Regions from separate parts of the Homo sapiens genome. Here regions 1, 3, 4 and 5 are each linked to region 2. Evidence: promoter capture Hi-C in human tissues and cell types (Jung and others, 2019). All regions are on one chromosome and are shown on one strand. Each heading gives the region's core, a stretch centred on a gene start or on the middle of the fragment in contact. The rest is flanking DNA. Distances are from core to core; before and after follow the strand shown. Region 1 has its middle 78 kb from the start of CDS2. Region 2 holds the start of SLC23A2 (solute carrier family 23 member 2). Region 3 overlaps CDS2 (CDP-diacylglycerol synthase 2). Region 4 has its middle 27 kb from the start of PRNT. Region 5 overlaps SLC23A2 (solute carrier family 23 member 2).

Evidence for each region. The method cuts DNA at HindIII sites, captures the fragments that hold promoters and counts their contacts. A contact is called where the count stands out against the background at its distance.
Region 1: a fragment that was not itself captured here is called in contact with the fragment with the promoter of SLC23A2 in region 2 in 1 of the 25 tissues and cell types used here (lymphoblastoid cells).
Region 3: a fragment that was not itself captured here is called in contact with the fragment with the promoter of SLC23A2 in region 2 in 1 of the 25 tissues and cell types used here (thymus).
Region 4: a contact is called between a fragment that was not itself captured here and the fragment with the promoter of SLC23A2 in region 2, in 1 of the 25 tissues and cell types used here (IMR-90 fibroblasts).
Region 5: a contact is called between a fragment that was not itself captured here and the fragment with the promoter of SLC23A2 in region 2, in 4 of the 25 tissues and cell types used here (bladder, heart right ventricle, pancreas and 1 more).

The regions. Positions count from the first base shown.
Region 1 is chr20:5,202,961-5,206,197 of GRCh38, forward strand. No RefSeq gene overlaps it. Among named protein-coding and RNA genes, the nearest start is that of CDS2, 78 kb to the left of the region's middle. The HindIII fragment of the contact is 3,450 bases long and covers 1-3,234 here.
Region 2 is chr20:4,999,170-5,002,908 of GRCh38, forward strand. It overlaps SLC23A2 (solute carrier family 23 member 2), which reads right to left and starts at 2,341. Exons shown (of 17, transcript NM_005116.6): 1 at 2,237-2,341. RefSeq lists silencers at 1,857-2,016, 2,207-2,446, a promoter at 2,230-2,428 and enhancers at 2,737-2,886, 3,671-3,739. The HindIII fragment of the contact is 14,848 bases long and covers 1,655-3,739 here.
Region 3 is chr20:5,182,013-5,185,713 of GRCh38, forward strand. CDS2 (CDP-diacylglycerol synthase 2) reads left to right here. Exons shown (of 13, transcript NM_003818.4): 6 at 375-433; 7 at 1,049-1,131; 8 at 2,846-2,933. Among named protein-coding and RNA genes, the nearest start is that of CDS2, 57 kb to the left of the region's middle. The HindIII fragment of the contact is 3,477 bases long and covers 1-3,328 here.
Region 4 is chr20:4,766,324-4,769,617 of GRCh38, forward strand. No RefSeq gene overlaps it. Among named protein-coding and RNA genes, the nearest start is that of PRNT, 27 kb to the left of the region's middle. The HindIII fragment of the contact is 6,418 bases long and covers 1-3,294 here.
Region 5 is chr20:4,865,198-4,868,726 of GRCh38, forward strand. SLC23A2 (solute carrier family 23 member 2) reads right to left here. Exons shown (of 17, transcript NM_005116.6): 13 at 2,573-2,678. Among named protein-coding and RNA genes, the nearest start is that of RASSF2, 43 kb to the left of the region's middle. The HindIII fragment of the contact is 5,571 bases long and covers 1-3,529 here.

The sequences.
Region 1 (3,237 bases), core at 260-2,759, 200 kb after region 2:
GAAGGATGGTGCTGCCATTTCTAAACTGTGGACGGCTGTGGGAGGACAGGTGCAGGTGGGAGGTGGATTAGAGAGGGTCAGTCAGGAGTTTGGGTTTGGACACGCTAGGTTTGAGATGCCTGTGAGATACCCACACAGGGATGTCCAGTCCTGGGGAGTAGTCCGAGATGGAAATAGAAATTTGAGAGTGATGAGGGTGTGCGCGTTATTCTACACCAGGAGCCGGAAGACTGGATAAAATCATCGACGGAGAGGAGCTAAGGTCTGGAGATGAGCCCCTCCGTCGTTTTGGACTTGAGGATCTACTTTTTAGCTAGGGCTACTCCCTTCCCTTCAATAAGACAATCCAGCCTTCAGGCCTGGGGAAAGGCCTGGGTAGAGTTGCCTTCAGGTGGCCCCACTCCCACCTCACAGCAGAAGCAGCTATTAATTTTCTCCTGGGGCCAGAATTCTAGAGGCCTGAGTGCTCTTCCCTTGAGAAGAAAGGGCAGCTTTACCTTTTGGTCTCCTGGGAAAGGAGAGGAAGGGAAACAAAGCAAGAGTAACTTCTCTATTTGATTATTTAGAGGCCAGGCAGTCGGGGTGGGAAGTCCCAGAGATGGACTCATGGCCTGGCCATGGCGTACTCACTTACACGCCATCCAATATTTACCAAAGGACACTGCCAGTTCCCAAATCAACCAAAACTTAGGGAGTTCTCAAATGAAATAAACACCATTGTGCCATTTCCGTTAATATCACTTCTCAATTTTAACAAACTTAAACACATTTTTAGGGTAAAAAGCACATCCATCAGACTGAGTCTAGGTTCAGGGTAAATTCTGATCTGGATTTGACCAAGGGAACTGAAGTTATTCCTGCAGCAAAGATTTGACCGATGGTGGATTTGACTGAGGCAACTGAAGTTATTCCTGCAGCTAAGATGGGCTCTCTGATCTTGCCCACATGGTCTCTATTTCTCGTAGATTCCAGGAGCCTTAGAGGTAGAGCCTTTGAAGCCATTGATTCTCAAACTTGGCTGCACATTAGAATTGCCTGAGGAACCTAAAAAACTACCAGTGCCCAGGCAGTATCTCAGACCAATGAGATAAGAGTCTCTGGGGGTGGGATGCAGGCATGAGTTTTAAAAAAAGCAGTTCCCTGGACTTACTCCAAAGTGTAGCTGAGGTTGAGAAACAGTGATTGAAACTTCCTCTAGTGAGTCCAGCCCCTCTCAGAAACCCATCATAACTGGTCAGCACCCTGTGCTGGAGCATCCCCAGGGTGAGCCTCAGGATGTCCCGAGGTGACCCTTCTGGGGTAGGTAATGTTGCTGTTCCATCCAGTGCTATTATTCTACATCACAAGCTATAGGGCAGAATGGTGTGTGCCTCCCAGTGCCTTTGCCCAGGACTCCTGTCTTCTGCCTTTTTTTTTTTTTTTTGAGACAGAGTCTTGCTCTGTTACCCAGGCTGGAGTGCAGTGGCTCAATCTCAGCTCACTGCAACCTCTGCCTCCCAGGTTCAAGCAATTCTCCTGCCTCAGCCTCCTGAGTAGTTGGGATTACAGGTGCCCGCCATCACACCCAGCTAATTTTTGTATTTTTTAGTAGAGATGAGGTTTCACCATGTTGGCCAGGCTGGTCTTGAACTCCTGACCTCAGGTGATCCGCCTGCCACGGCCTCCCATAGTGCTGGGATTACGGGCCTGACCCACCATGCCCGGCCTCCTTCTGTCTTCTTACACCTCATAGACTGAATCTGATTCCTCTTTTGCATAACACATGTCTACAATGATTCTTAAGTGCCTCCTGGCCTTCCCCTTGCTGCCCAGCCTTCTCTTCCCAAGTTTTCCATCTTGTTCTTTTCACTCTTCCTCACGAGAAATGCCTCCCACTCCCTTCACTATGCTGACCAGTTCTGGATACCCACAAGCTTATCCTTTTTGGGGGTCCCCAGTCACTGCCTGTAGTTGTGCACCAGTGCATGTGTTAGAGGGGGCATTCATGGGATCCTGTGGGCACTGACGATACCCGTAGCCACTGCCCAAGAGTGAGCTTCTTCCCCGCCAGAGCCTCACGGGCCCCTAAATTCCCTGTCGACCATGGTGTTCATCAGGAAGTGGGGCCAGGAGGGAGCCCTCTGGTAATCTGTCAGTTATTAGAGAACCTCCTGAATCTGGGGAGCTGGGGTTGGTGGCTTCCTGAAGTTGTAATTATTTAACTTTGTATTTTGAATAGTTTTAGACTTACAGAAAAGTTGTAAGAATAGTATAAAGAATTTCCTACATCCTTCACCCAAATTTTCCAAATGTTAACATTTTGGCACATTTGTTTATGTTCTCACTCCACACACACACTTTTTTTTCTTAATTATTTGTAAGTCGTAGACATGCCCCTTTACTGTTATATAACCTTATTCAGATTTCACCAGTTACCCCAATAGTGTCCATAATAGCAAAGAATATTAATAATATGTTTTTGACTGGTGCAATCTGAGGAGCTCTGCAGGAGCTTTGAGAACAAGAAATACTCTTCCTGGCCACCCCTTCCTTTCTGTGATAGAGACGCCTGGGGCTGCTGCTGTAGCATAGTGAGGCAGCATAGTGAGGCAGTGCTGTCACGGGCCCAGCAGAGGGCAGTAGTAGTTTAGGAGTGAGGCACAGGCAGGGCTTAGAAGTGAGACATCCTTATCCGCAGAGGATCCTAGCGCAGCATTCACTAGCTTTGTAATCTGGAACAAAACCCTTAACAACTCAGCTTCCCCCTCTATAAAATAAGGGTAATTGAGAAAATTTGCAAAGCACGTGTCTACTCCTAGCATCTAGTAATCATCCAACAGAAAGTTTTATTTGCACTATTTTAAACTTTTATTTGTAATGTTACCACCTTGGCTGAGAAGTGAATTTCTCAGGGATGCCGGGGAAGAAGCAGAGAAATGTTCCAGCAAAGGCAGAGGCAGGGCGGGACATTGAGGCTAGGGGCACAGAGAGGGAAGGGAGTTCTTGGGAATGAAGGGGAGGGGAATGAAGTGGTAGCCGTGGCTGACCTTGCATTGAACCCACCCAGGCCAGCTCGAACTGAAATTCACACTGGAATGCTGACTATTTCATGGCATTGTCCAGGTGCTAGAACCTCCTCCACAGCCATCCTTACCAAATCCATAAAGGAGGAATGGCTTGTCTTCTTTTCCATTTGGGCTGGGGAAGTGCCTGAGTTCGATTCCTGACTCCATCCCTTAGTGTCTGTGTGGCCTTGGG
Region 2 (3,739 bases), core at 1,091-3,590:
GAATATAGGTCCCCAAATAGATCCCTGGTTTGTCTTTAGAGACACTGAAGAGGACAACAATAGCCAATTCGGGATTTCAAACACCCCACAAACTAGACCTTAGGCTCTGTGAGGGCAAAAGACACAGTTTATTCAACAACGATCTGTTCAACAGAACCTGGTCACCAAGTGGATGGATGGATGGGCAGACACAGATGGACAGACTACTCAGTGGGTGGCTACATGTGCTTGCCTGCCCCGGGACACATGACTCACTTCTGCAATGCTACATAGACTAGAGTTTGCTCCATCAATGAGATAGATAGTATGGCATGAAACCTAGCAAAACCATCTACATTTTTCTAGCCAGGTACTGGTTTTTTTTAAGCTGGCCGCCATACTCAGCTATTTTTTTTTTTTTTTTATAGAAACAGGAGTCTTGCTGGGTTGCCTAGGCTGGTCTTGAACTCTTGGCCTCAAACAATCCTCCCACCTCAGCCTCCCAAAGTGCTGGGATTACAGGTGTGAACCACAACACCCGGCCCAGGTACTTCAATAGGCATTTTTTAAACATGTCAACAGATGTTTAAACTTAATTGACTTAATTGACCGTGCCACAGTCAGAGAATACAACTGCCAGACAACCATCTAAAATACTGTCAACATAAAAAGTTCCTGAAATACCTATTGTCTTAAAAAATCACCCTCCACTCTAAGCAAAGAAACCAAAAGAGAAATGCCTTGGTATTAAAAGAAAGAAGCTGGTTGCCATTTTGGCAAAGGAAATAGCCTAGAAAGCAGATACCTCATGCTCAGGATGTCACATGGAACAGGCTGGACACACCTGCTGCCTCCCTTTAACTAGCAGGTGTGCCATGAGAGCTTACACTGGGCACACCCACTGGTGCCCAAAAGCCATTAAATTGGGGATGAATGAAAAGAGAACAGTAGTAATACGTTCATAAGTGACCCTGATAGAGCCAACCATAACCCAGCACAGAATTCTGATTTTTTGAGCTGAAAAGGGCCCTTTATACATCTCACCAGGTTCAAACACCTTCAGGGGAGGCAGGCAACGTCACCTGCAACGGTGAAAAAGGCAGGTGTAGACAACCAGAAACGGTGAGGCCCAAACCCAACAGCATTCAAATACAAAAGCATAAAATAAAAATGCTCCAGCCACCCCAATTCCAGCCTTTTGCTTCAGAGAGGACGAAGCCGGCTGAGGGAGGTCACATGGCCAATTAGTGACAGCTCAAACCAGACTGCCTCCGGACTCCCAGTCCCATGTCCTCGCACATCCCGGGGCCTTCTCTGCGCGCAGATGACCCAATTGTCAGCAGGGACTGCATCTTCCCCCGCCCGTCTCCCAGCACTGCAAGAATAGAAGTAGCACCTACTACAAACGCTGCAGACCCAGAAAGCCCTTATGGGTGACTTTCTTCCACCTGCAGTTGCCCTCATTTACCCTTTGCCCTGACAATCGATAATTTCCCATCAGTCACGCTTAAACCCCCAGCCTGCAGGCCGACATCCTATCAGCCACCCATCCAAGGGGGGGCATCTAGGACCAAACGAAGGAGAAAATCCTGCGCCTTAAAGTAGTCACACTCGAAATGTCATTTTTTCCCCCCGAAAGGTGGCAAGGAGGGGGACTCGCGACCCCCCAGGGAACAGGCCAGAAAGGCCCCGGGGTCGGAGGAGCTGCTTCTAAAATTACTTCGCGCAGTCTTTGTAGAAGGGAAGAAAGCAAGAATGTAAAAGGCACCCTCTTGCCGCCCCTCCTGATGCCCCTGAATTCCAGGGGGCGAGACGATGCCCGTGCGCACCACCGGGGGAGGGGCGAGGGAAGCGACCCCAGGACGCGCGGGCGCAGAGCCCGGGAGGAGGCGGCGGCAGCCAGTGGGGTTCTGGGGGCGCCCCATTTGCCTCCCCGCTGCGCGGCCTGAGGGCCCGAGCGCGCTGTGGCTCCCGTGGCGGGAAGGGGTGGGTACCCCGGGGGCCCGGCCCGGCCGGCAGAACGGCAGGAGCTGAGGGCCGCCGGGCATCTTGGGCCCCGGGGCCAGGGTGGCCGGCGGGCGCGGGGTCCCGGGAGATGGGTCGGGGTGGGGGCGCGCAGGCCGCGCCGCGGGGCCGGTGGGTGACAGCGCGCGGGGGCCGTGCCAGGCCGGCCTCGTGGGCGCGGCGAGCACCTCGCGGCCCCGCCGGCAGGTGCGGCCCGCAGGCCGGGCAGGGGGCGCGGCGGCCGGGCTCTCACCTGGCTGCAGCTCGCGTGGTTCCCGTCCTGCCGCCGCGCCTCGGCGCCGCAGTGCCCGCTGCAGCCTCCGCCTCCGGTCCCCGCGACAGCCGCCTGCAAAATGGCGCCGCGGAGGGGCGGGCCGGGGGCGGGGTGCAGCGGAGCCGCCCGCCCCCGCGCCGGTCTGGGGCCCACCTCCCTCCCCGCCCCCGACCCCTGCCCTCGGGCCTCCCCCCGGGGAGGGGCTGCTCCCTGGCACCCGGCAGCGCTCCCCGGAACATCCCGGGCCTCGCACCCAGCCGTCCCCTTCCCGTTCCTTTCATTTCCCTCCCCTGCGCAGAAAGATCGCCCCCCTTCGCGACCCTTCCCACCAGTCACACCTGTTCCTGGGGACCCACCTGGCAAGCAGAGCGCTGGTCCCTGAGTGTCCTGGTCCAGGTCCCCCCTTTTTACCCCGCCTGCCACCGAGCCCTGTCATTGCTCGAGCGTGATAAGCAAGCAGTTTGTGGTGCATTGGGCTCAGTGGGTTGGATGTTTTAAAACAATTTCACCGCTTCTCCACTTAGGTAGCCAGTTTTTTTAACCTAACTGGAGAAGAAGTCCTTCTTACCTCATGCAGAGATCGTAATACAGACCAAGGCTTTTCAGACGTGAATTCTCTGGGGGTCGTGTTAGGCTAGGGGCGGGTTCACATTCAGTGGCTCTGGGGTGCAGCCCAAAAGTCTGCACTTCTAAATTGTCCCCAGGTGATGCCCCCGGGTGAGGTTCTTGGACCGCTAAGCAGAAAGGCCAAGTGTAAATCCCTGGCCCTCGGTCTTAGAGCTGGGCAGCCTCACTTTGAGGACTTCATTAAGATGCAGATGGCTGGGCCCCACCCCCAGAGTTGCTAAGGCTGGAGGTCTGGCGTGAGGCTCCAGAATCTGCATTTCTGCCAAGTTCCCAGGTGATGCTGATGCTACTGGTCTGGGGACCACACGTATTGAGCCACTGCTGAAATCTGAATACAATTTTTTAAATGTTCTAATAATTAGTACTTTCTTAACACCTTCCATCTTGAAACCGTTGTCATGGTTGCTTTACTAACTGAATGATAATGTACTAGTTCCCGGGCAACTCTTGAGAAACAGAATTGTAGACGGTGTCTGTCTGACCTCACATGGAGAGAAATTGATTTTATAATCAGAATTATTTATGTGTTTTACACAGTTTTGGAAAGTGACATCACACATATTAATGCAGTTGGGGGAGCAGCAACTAAAGGAATTTTATGAAATAGGCAAGTGTGGTCTGTGTCTTGACAATAATGTGTCTTCCCATTTATTTATCTAATAACTGCATTTTTATTTGCTTATATTTAATTTTTTAGAGACAAGGTCTCACTCTGTCACCCAGGCTGGAGTGCAACGGCACAATTAAGGCTGCAGCATCAACCTTCCAGGCTCAAGGGATCCCCCAACCTTGGCCTCCTAAGTAGCTGGGATGACAGGACCACACCACCAGGTCCAGCTAAGCTTGGTTTTATGC
Region 3 (3,701 bases), core at 340-2,839, 180 kb after region 2:
TAGACAATATGTAAACAAATGGACATAACTGTGTTTGAATAAAACTTTATTTATAAAAACAAGCAGCTGGCCTGACCACTGTTTGCTGGCCCATGTTCTAGGAATAAAACATTCCTATCTGATGAACCATGTTCTAAGTTTAGTGTGGTCTGCATGATTATAAAATATTGCCTTCCTTTTACTGTTTGGGAGGAGTTATTTTTTCCTTGTGACTGTTTATCTGGGTAATGTTTTTCTCCCCTGGGCTTTGACATTGTGCACTGGTTAGCTGCTGGGAATAAATTAGCCAAAGAACCACTTAACATAGCTAAAGGAGGGCAAAGATAAATGCAGAACATAATTCATTTTTCTTTTCTCCTCCCACCTCAAACTAGGATTCTGCATGTTTGTACTGAGTCTGGTCAAGAAGCATTATCGACTGCAGTTCTACATGGTAAAGGAAATGCATGCGTGTGTGTCAGAATTCTTGATTTAAATGAAGTTTTTCAGGAACTCAACAAGCCTTTCATGCTTTCTGTGACAAATCAAAACTCAGGAACATGGTCTGATATGTATGCATCTAGAGCATGAAGGAAGAATGCCCATTTAGGTTTAATGGCTCTACGTTGACTTAGACCCAGTCACTGTTACTTACACCTTAAGCAGCCTCTCCACTAGGACCCTGAGGTGGGCTCCAGAGAAGGCACAAGCTGAAGCTTCAGACACTGCCCACAGATGTCCTGTCTGGTACATCACTTGCTACCACTTATTCCCTGACTCACTAGAGAACAGCTCCTCTCTGAGTGCTCCAGGTGCTCAATAACTACTAAGAAAATGAAAAATACCCAGGCTTTCAGAGCATGGGAGAGCTCACTCACTAGTGGGCTGTGGGGGACAAAGTATTACTCTCAGAAGCCTGATCTTACCTGTTCACTTTCAATAAGTCAGATACAAAAGCAGATATTTTTCCTACCTGCTTCTCAGCAGTTTTCTATTTGGTATTGATTGTTCTTTGAAGTTACTTTCAAGGTAAACTGGTAAGTAGTGTTTATTTTTCTTTTTTTTGCAGTTTGGCTGGACCCATGTGACATTGCTGATTGTTGTAACACAGTCACATCTTGTTATCCACAACCTATTTGAAGGAATGATCTGGTGAGAATTGGGAGTTGGATTTTCCCTTTTATTTTGTGAGTGTTTCTCGTGTACAGATACCCCCCTCTAAGCCAGTGGCCCTCACCTTGAGCCACATCAGAATCCTCTGCAGGGTTCATTATAGCACAGATTGCTGGACCCCACCCCTGACTTTTTGATTCATTAGATCTGGGGTAGGCTTGAGAATTTGAATTTCTAGTACATTCCTGGGTGGTGCTTATATTGCTGGACAGGACCTATGCTCTGAGAACCACTGTTCTAGACTAATAGGTACAGGAATATTTAAAGACTCAAAGACAATGCAACATGTATGGCAACAGATTTGAAAACCTAGAGGAAATATTCATGATTTCCTGACAAAATATATACTAAAAGTCATGAAGAAGAAAACGTGAATAGATCAGTAACTGTAAATGAGCTTTGAAAATTATGTAAGATTCCATATCTGGAAAGAGAAACAGGACCAAATGGGTTAACAGCTGAGTTTTATCTAACCTTTATACCAAAGCCAATGAGGAGAGAGAAGCAGGAATGATAAACCCATTTCTGCTACGATTATAGATAAATCATTCTAAATAAAATACTAGCAAATAGAATCTGGCAGTGTGTCAAGGGAATAATATGCAAATACCGAGTGGATTTTATTCCAAAAATGCAGTGGTTTCATGTATCAGCATTGATAGAAATCACTGGCCAACTGAAGCAGCTAGGTGATCTTAGTGAAAAGGTTAAAGGGCGGGCGCGGTGGCTCACGCCTGTAACCCAACACTTTTGGAGGCCAAGGTAGGCGGATCACGAGGTCAGGAGTTGAAGACCGGCCTGGGCAACATAGTGAAATCCCCGTCTCTACTAAAAATACAAAAAAATAGCTGGTGTGGTGGCGTGGCAGGTGCCTGTAATCCTAGCTATTCCGGAGGCTGAGGCAGGAGAATCACTTAACCTGGGGGTGGAGGTTGCAGTGAGCCGAGATTGTGTCACTGCACTCCAGCCTGGGCAACAGAGACTCTGTCTCAAAAACAAAAACAGAAACAAACAAACAAACCTGTAATCAAAGAACTTTTTAAAAAGTGTCAGTGTCAGGGAGTGGAGGGTGAGGAGAGAGAGAACAAGTGTGGAAACCACCTCTTTCATAGTGAGGATGACTGGATCAGCAGGGGAGTGGGCAGAGGGGAAATCTAGCTGTGCGTGTTGGGGTTTCACACTCAAATACAGTCCTGGGGAAAGATAGGGCCAACTAGAGCTAGTAATAAACAGCAAGAAAAGTCAGTAAATAATGAAAGAGTCATTAAAGCATACTATTTAGAATTGGGGAGGTAACCACTAGAAAAATAAAAATTAGAAACGATTAGAAGTGGTTATTTTTGGGAATGGAGATAGGGATGGGAGAAAGAAGGAAAACTTTTTGTTCCTTTTACAATTAAATTTCTCTCATTGTTTACGTATATTTCTTTATCATGAAAAAAGGACAGATGACCTTTTAGTTTGCAACCTCCACTTATTCAGTAGTCATTCAGTAAACACTTGAATATGTACTCTGTGCTAGGTACTAGGTATGACTTTTTTGGTATTTTTTATGTTTTTAACTTACTCCTTAATGGGTTACCAGAATTTTATGGGTGATTTTGGTGCTGGAATTTAAGAATGGCACTATTTTGTGTACTTTTGAGGTACTGTCACCTTGCTTGAGTTGATCCTTACTTTGGTTCATTTCTAGGTTCATTGTCCCCATATCTTGTGTGATCTGTAATGACATCATGGCCTATATGTTTGGCTTTTTCTTTGGTCGGACCCCACTCATCAAGGTAAATGGATTACCCTAATGTGAAATACCACTGTGAGGGGAGGGTGGTGCTCTCAATGTGAGTAGATCAGCCTGGCAGACAGAAGAAATCTAGCTGTGTTGTATTGTGGCCATGTCTTCATGTCTTCCTGGAGAAAGGCCAAAGGAAAACACTGACAACTGATTAAAAAAAAAAAAAGATAATAAAGAAAATAGGCTGGGCGTGGTGGGTCATGCCTGTAATCCTAGCACTATGGGATGCTGAGGCAGGAGGATTGCTTGAGGCCAGGTGTTCAAAAGCAGCCTGGGGAACTTAGTGAGGCCTTGCCTTTACTAAAACATTTAAAAATTAGCCAGGCATGGTGGTAGCATGCACCTGTAGTCCCAGCTCCTTGGGAGGCTGAGATGGGAGGATCTCTTGAGCCCAGGAGGTTGAGGCTTCAAGGAGCTGTGATAGTGCCACTATACTCCAGCCTGGGTGATGGGGCAAGATCGTGTCTTGAAAAAAGAAAGGAAAATATTTTTACAGATTTATATAATCTTTTTTGGGGACACATTTTTTGGGACTTTGATCTGGATTTGAGTGTAGTCACTTAATTAGTATATCGTTTTCTAATATAAAACTATTCGAATGACTGATTGAAACAGAAAGGGAACCAAAGGGAGGAGGATATAAGATAGGGAACAAGGAAACCATATTTGGGGGAGCTTTAAAAGGTGACATGGTTAAGAGAATGGGGTTTTATGAAAGAAAGGTTCTTAACAAGTAATCATTGTTCGCAAAGCTATA
Region 4 (3,294 bases), core at 292-2,791, 230 kb before region 2:
CTACAGGCATGTGCCACCGTGCCTGGCTAATTTTTGTATTTTTAGTAAAGACGGGGTTTTGCTGTGTTGGCCAGGCTGGTCGCAAACTCCTAACCTCAAGGGATCCGCCTGCCTCAGCCTCCCAAACTGCTGGGATTACAGGCATGAGCCACCGCGCCTGGCCTAAAGTCTTAATAATCTCAAACTATAGAGCAAAAGGATATAGGCATGGCCTGGGGGACCAGTTTAACTTTAGTTAGACTGAGTTAACTAGAGTAGAGATAACCAAGTGGTGGCCTACAAGCCAATACAAGTGACAATCTTTTCCTGTCTACCACAGTTTTTAAAAACCAGAGATTCTGATAATAATCTGGGTTTCTGGGTTTCTGGATTTTCTTGAAAAATCAGGAATTCCTGAATCCCATGGAACTTTCACTTCTACAGGGCAGCATTGCCTGAGAAGTCAGAATTTGCAATCCTGCTAGTAGCAGAAAGTCAGTCCAAAAGAGGAAGGTGTGGTTTGCAGGAAAGAGGAAATAAAGATGGAGAGAGTGTGTGTGTGTGCTACATGAACCCCAGGAGATGACGAAGACAGACCCCTGCTGACAACCAGCACCAGGCTGAGAGTCACCCCGGAGACAGGTCCTCAAGGAGATACAATGGATAGAATGCTGGGGGAGACTGAACATATGAAAGGTTTAGAGAATTTGGGACAAATATGGGCTGAATTCATGAAAAATACATTGAAAACCTAAGCAAACAGAAGGACAATTTTTAACTTCAAGGAAAACAAAAAGTTGTGCTAAAAATGGAAAAATAAGCCAAATACAGTATACATTCAGCTTTAGAGAGCATGTTTATACAATTATACAACATAAAGGCAGATGTGCGCTAACCAAAAATTATGATTGGCAGGACGGAGACCCAAGAATTGGGGAGGGAGGTAGAGAAAGATAAGGCCCCAGATGAGCAAATCAGGAAGAGAAACACCAACATGCTACTTACAGATAAGATGGCAAGTACCAAAGAATCAGCTAGAAGAATTGAAGGCCGTGGGAAGGAAGGGGAGGTAGAGCATGGTAGGAGCAAAAGAGAGCTGGTTTTGTTTGACTTTCTTAACCATGTGCATGTCTATCATTGAAGAAAAGACAAACTGTGTTTTGAAAAAAGTTAATTGATCACAAGTAAAGCCGCCACCCCCAGCCCCCATCCTTGCCTCACGATAACCCTTAACAATTATATCCTTCCAACGGTTTATATATATATATATAAAGACCGTTGGGGTTTAGAGTCATTTAAAGCAAATCTGAAGTTTTAAGGGTCCTTAAGGAGGTATAAGGCTTAAGATCTGGCCGGGTGCAGTGGTTTACGCCTGTAATCCCAGCACTTTGGGAGGCCAAGGTGGGTGGATCACCTGAGGTCAGGAGTTCAAGACCAGCCTGGCCAACATGGTGAAACCCCATCTGTACTAAAAACACAAAAAATTAGCCAAGCATGGTGGCAGACAACTGTAATCCCAGCTACTCAGGAGGCTGAGGCAGGAGAATCATTTGAACCTGGGAGGCAGACATTGCAGTAAGCCGAGATCACAGCATTGTACTCCAGCCTGGGCAATAAGAGCGAAACTCCATCTTAAAAAAAAAAAAAAAAAAAAAAGGCTTAAGATCTCTTAGAGTCTATTGAGATCTATGTATCTATTAATATATGTAAGGATTTTATATATATACAAAGATCAACTTTTGTGTGTGTATGATACATAAATAGTATCATCATGTATGTATCTTTCACCAACTATTTTCACTTAACATTACGTCTTGGCATCTACTTTCAGCTAGTAGAATTGGTGGGGTGACAGGTCTGTAGGCTTTAATATCCTTCCTCTACAAATTCTGAATGAAGAAATTATTACACAGACCCATCTTTATTACCAGGACTTGAATCTCATTTATATAGTCCATTGAAACTAAAATGTTATCTTTCAATATGTCCCCCCAAAAAAGACAGTATTCTGGATCTTGAATTTTCTGGGAGATGCATTTTTGGAGCATCCTTCTTGAGGGGATAAAGCAGTTTAAGTCATTGTCCCTGAGCATAATTCATTTATAATATCCCACATGAATTCTTGTCCTTTAAGTAGCTACTCCTGGGACTTTGCCCCCCTCTTTTTCAACATGCTTAATGTCACACTGGCCTGAAGAGCAACTTTACTGCTGCAGGGGTAACTTATATTTCATCTCATAAAGCACCAAATCTGCATTATTTTTTACCTCAATTCCGGATGAATTTTGGTGATTAAAATGAGAAAAACATGGCTCGTGGTCCTCAAGTGGATTTTTGGATCCCGGTTCAAAAGTGGAATAAATCTATTTTAGAAATGTGAGTTCATATTACTTTATAATAACATCCTCAGGTGATGGGCATGCACGTGGGCCCAGGGTAGGGAGTGCCGTGGTGAAGAGTCTGATGATGTCCATCAGGAGTTTCAGAGTTAGCCTCACAGTTCAGTATCTTTTTTTTTTTTTTTGAGATGGAGTCTTGCTCTGTCGCCCAGGCTGGAGTGCAGTGGCACAATCTCAGCTCACTGCAAGCTCCGCCTCCCGGGTTCACGCCATTCTCCTGCCTCAGCCTCCCAAGTAGCTGGGACTACAGGCACCCACCACCATGCCCGGCTAATTTTTTGTATTTTTAGTAGAGACGGGGTTTCACTGTGTTAGTCAGGATGGTCTTGATCTCCTGACCTTGTGATCCGCCCACTTCAGCCTCCCAAAGTGCTAGGATTACAGGCATGAGCCACCGCGCCCAGCCACAGTTGAGTATCTTAATAATGTTTTATCATTATTTAGGGTTTAGGGTTTAAGATTGGAGTTATTAGAGTTTAGAGCCCTTGGGATCATAGTCAAAGTTACATTTGGGAACAAGAAAGTCTCAGCGTAGTCTCTGTCACTCTTCTTGTATCATTGGGATTATTAGGGTGAAGGTATCTGATCATTAAGAAGAGAGATGTAGGGTTCGGATTCTGGTCACGATGTATGTGGATCTGCTCCAACTTCTTCACAGAGTTTAGAGCTCAGGATCATTTGTTTGTGGTAATTAGGCCTTTAGGGTTGTCATTGTCAAGGGGTTCAGGGTCAAACATCCATTAATTTATCATCATTTGGAATTTGGGGTCTTCTGTTGCAACACCAACAGGATCCCTAAATCAAGGTTAAAGTCCAAGTATACAAACAGAGCTCTGGTCTTTGGGTAACAGATGAGTCATTGAGGTATGGAATAATGAGGGTCAGGACAGGTCACTGACGAGGTGTCTGCTCCATT
Region 5 (3,529 bases), core at 987-3,486, 130 kb before region 2:
GGATTTACAAAGTCTTCAACGGTGGTGCAGAATGCAGCAAGGAGAAATGACCTTCCTCTGGACACCAACAAAGAGATCTGACGGCCAGCGAGATAGTACTTGCTCTGTTCCTAGAAATAAACTAAGGGGTAAATAGCAATAATGATAATAACGATAATGATGGACCTTGCTGGTCCAGGTAGGGAGGCACTCAGGTGCCATCATTCCTTCATGCAATATAGATATTTATGAAGCACCCGCTCTGCCAGGCTACTGTTCTAGGCACTTGGGATACATCAGCTCATTAAAAAGTGCTGGCAAGGTAACTTGTCAGAGTAAGCTAGCACCATTCAAATTTTAATAAAAGGAATGATTTCCCAAACTACCTTGGTGGCCACATTATATGATGATGTGTTTTAAAGGGGTGCAGAAGGAGGAGGCTTGTTACACCATCTTCCCCTAAGATTCCCTTCATCTACAACAATTTTACTCCTACAGTCGTCCCTAGGGAACCTTGAATTAGTTCCAGGACCGCCACTCTCCCCGCCTCAGATACCAACAACCACAGACGCTTAACTCCCTGATATAAAATGGTGTAGTATTTGCATGTAGCCTACACACATCCTCCAATATACTTTATTTTATTTATATATTTTTTTTTATTTTTTATTTTGGAGTCAGAGTCTCGCTCTGTCACCCAGGCTGGAGTGCAGTGGCATGATCTCAGCTCACTGCAACCTCTGCGTCCTGGGTTCAAGTGACTCTCCTGCCTCAGCTTCCCAAGTGGCTGGGACTATGGGCACCAGCCACCAAGCCTGGCTAATTTTTGTGTTTTTAGTGGAGACAGGGGTTCAACATGTTGGCCAGGCTGGTCTCGAACTCCTGACCTCAGGTGATCTGCCCACCTCGGCCTCCCAAACTGCTGGGATTACAGGTGTGAGCCACCGTACCCAGCCAATATCCTCCCATATACTTTAAATCATCTCGACATTACTTACAATCCTTAATACAATGTAATTGCTCTGTAAATCGTTGTCAGACTGCATTGTTCAGAGAATAATGACAACAAAAAGTTTGTACATGCTCACCCAGAACAGTACAGAAACAAACAATATTAGTTCAGAAACAATATTTTTGAATTGAAGTTGGTAGAACCCACAGATACAGAGGGCCGGCTATCTTATTTGAGATTTGGGATTAGTTATATGCCTGCAAGCTCATGGCAGCAAACTGGCTGAAGAGTGGCATGGCTTAGGCCCCATTCTGTGCCCATGAGATCCTTCCCTCATCTCCCTGTGCTCAGCACTGGCTTCTCACCATGGGTAGCAAAAGGACCTCCAGGATGGCGCTAGAGGAAGCGCCCCTCAGACAACCTTCCCTCACATCCCCCATACAGGGAGCAACAGGCAGATGGGGCCATTGGCACACCTCAGGCTGAGCTCTGGCAGGGCCCTGCCAACCTGGGGAAACCAACAAACAAACCAGGCATGTGTGTGCCTGCCTGGCAGCTCCCTCTCACCTGGATTTGCAATCAAGGTTAATCAAACTTAGTATCTGGTTTCTCTTTATCTGATTATAGAATCTTACATGGCAAAGGAGAGCTCTTTTGAAATCCACTCCTCCCTCCCAATTTGACAGAGGTCAACCAGTTCTAGAAGGTTTCCGGGCTCACCCCAAGTCCTCAGTGAGGGAGACCTGTGAGACGTAGGCCATCGAGGATGGTGAACCAATTTTCATGGTCTTAGTTTCACAACATACCATGGCCAATGGTGGGTCATCTCTTAATTTAAAACTAGTGACACCTCCCAGTTGGGATCCCATTTCTACCTTTTGCCCAGCCCCCCATGGTCTATTCTCATCACTGCAGTCAAAGCGATCCCTAAAAAAAAAAAAAAAAAAAAAAAAATCTGACCAAGCTGCTCCCTGCAGCACTCCCTTCCACTCAGGCAGTCTGTGGCTGCCTACCTACCTGCCTGCCTGTGTAACCTGCTCCCCAGTTACCCGGCAGACCCCACCTGCTCTGACTCCCTGACCCGCACTGGCCTCCTTGCTGACCTTCCACTTCCAGGATAGGGCTCGGCCCTGGCCACACCCTGGCCTGGAACGCTCTCCCCCAGGTTATTTGCAGGCTCCCTCCCTCCACCCTTCAGGTCTGTGTTCAGGTCACCTGATCACCCTCTCCCCAAGCTTCCTGTCCCATGTTTCCCCCAGTACTTGTCACTGGCTGACATAATGCATCATTTATGGACTTAGTATGCTGATTGTTGATTGCTAGAATGTAAACTCCACTTTTTAATTCACTGATGTATCCCAAGTGCCTTGAACAGTGGCCTGGCAGAGTCAGTGCTTTATAAATATCTATACTGCATGATGGAATGACAGCACTGAGTGCCTCCCTACCCGGACCAGCAAGAGAAGAGAGACTTCCAAACAGGCATTATAAACACTTAAAAAAAAAAAAAAAAAAAAAAAGGAGAGAAGTAATTTTTTAGAACCAGAGGCCCGCCCATTTGGAACTTGCAGTGGCCAGATCGATCAATGAAATGGACCAATGCTTAGAAACCCAATCATTTAATTAGAAAAATCTGTGTACCTTTGTAATTCCCAAAACTCCAATGTTGGGACTGGATGAAGTAGAGCCATTCCCAGTACCAAATATGCCATCAAGAACACAGGAGAGGCCTTCCACGAAAATTCCCCTAAGATGTAAAGGAATGGAGGAAAGAAAATCATTCAATGGGATAATGCATTCACTCTGAAATAGCCTCTACACATCTACAATCCAAAAATGTGGTCCAGAGCCTGCAGCTTCCACATCTCCTGGGAGCTGGGAGGGCGATTAAAAATACAATCTCAGACCCCACCCCAGACCTGCTGAAGCAGAAAAGAATCTGCATTTTTTTTTTTTTTTTTTTTTTTTTTAGAGAGTGTCTCACTCCGTCACCTAGGCTGGAATGCAGTGACGCGATCTTGGCTCACTGCAACCTCCACCTCCTGGGTTCAAGAGATTCTCCTGCCTCCCGAGTAGCTGGGATTACAGGTTTGCACCACCATGCCTGGCTAATTTTTGTATTTTTAGTAGAGACGGGGTTTCACCATGTGGCCAGGCTGGTGTGGAATTCCTGACCTCAGGGTGATCCGCCTGCCTCAGCCTCCCAAAATGTTGGGATTACAGGCGTGAGCCACTGTGCCCGGCCAGAATCTGCATTTTAACAGAACCCCCAAAGCTCATTCCATTTTGAGAAGCACATCTCTAAATCACACGTTAGATTTGAGTGTTTTTAAATCACCGCAAATGAAAGCAAAGGATTTTAGCCAGAAAATAAAGCCATTTGTTGGGGTATAAGACAAACATGGGCCGTCTATGGAAATAAAACATTGATGTGATCCTTTACTCTTAAAATCCAGTTTCATCAGGAAGGAAATGTTTTATAATTTCATAAGTACTGACACTTTTAAACATACTGATATACAGGTATTTAATCATGTGCAGCAGCTCCATTAGAGAAAGATGGGGACATCAGGTACCAGAGCCAAGGCCCAGTCCATT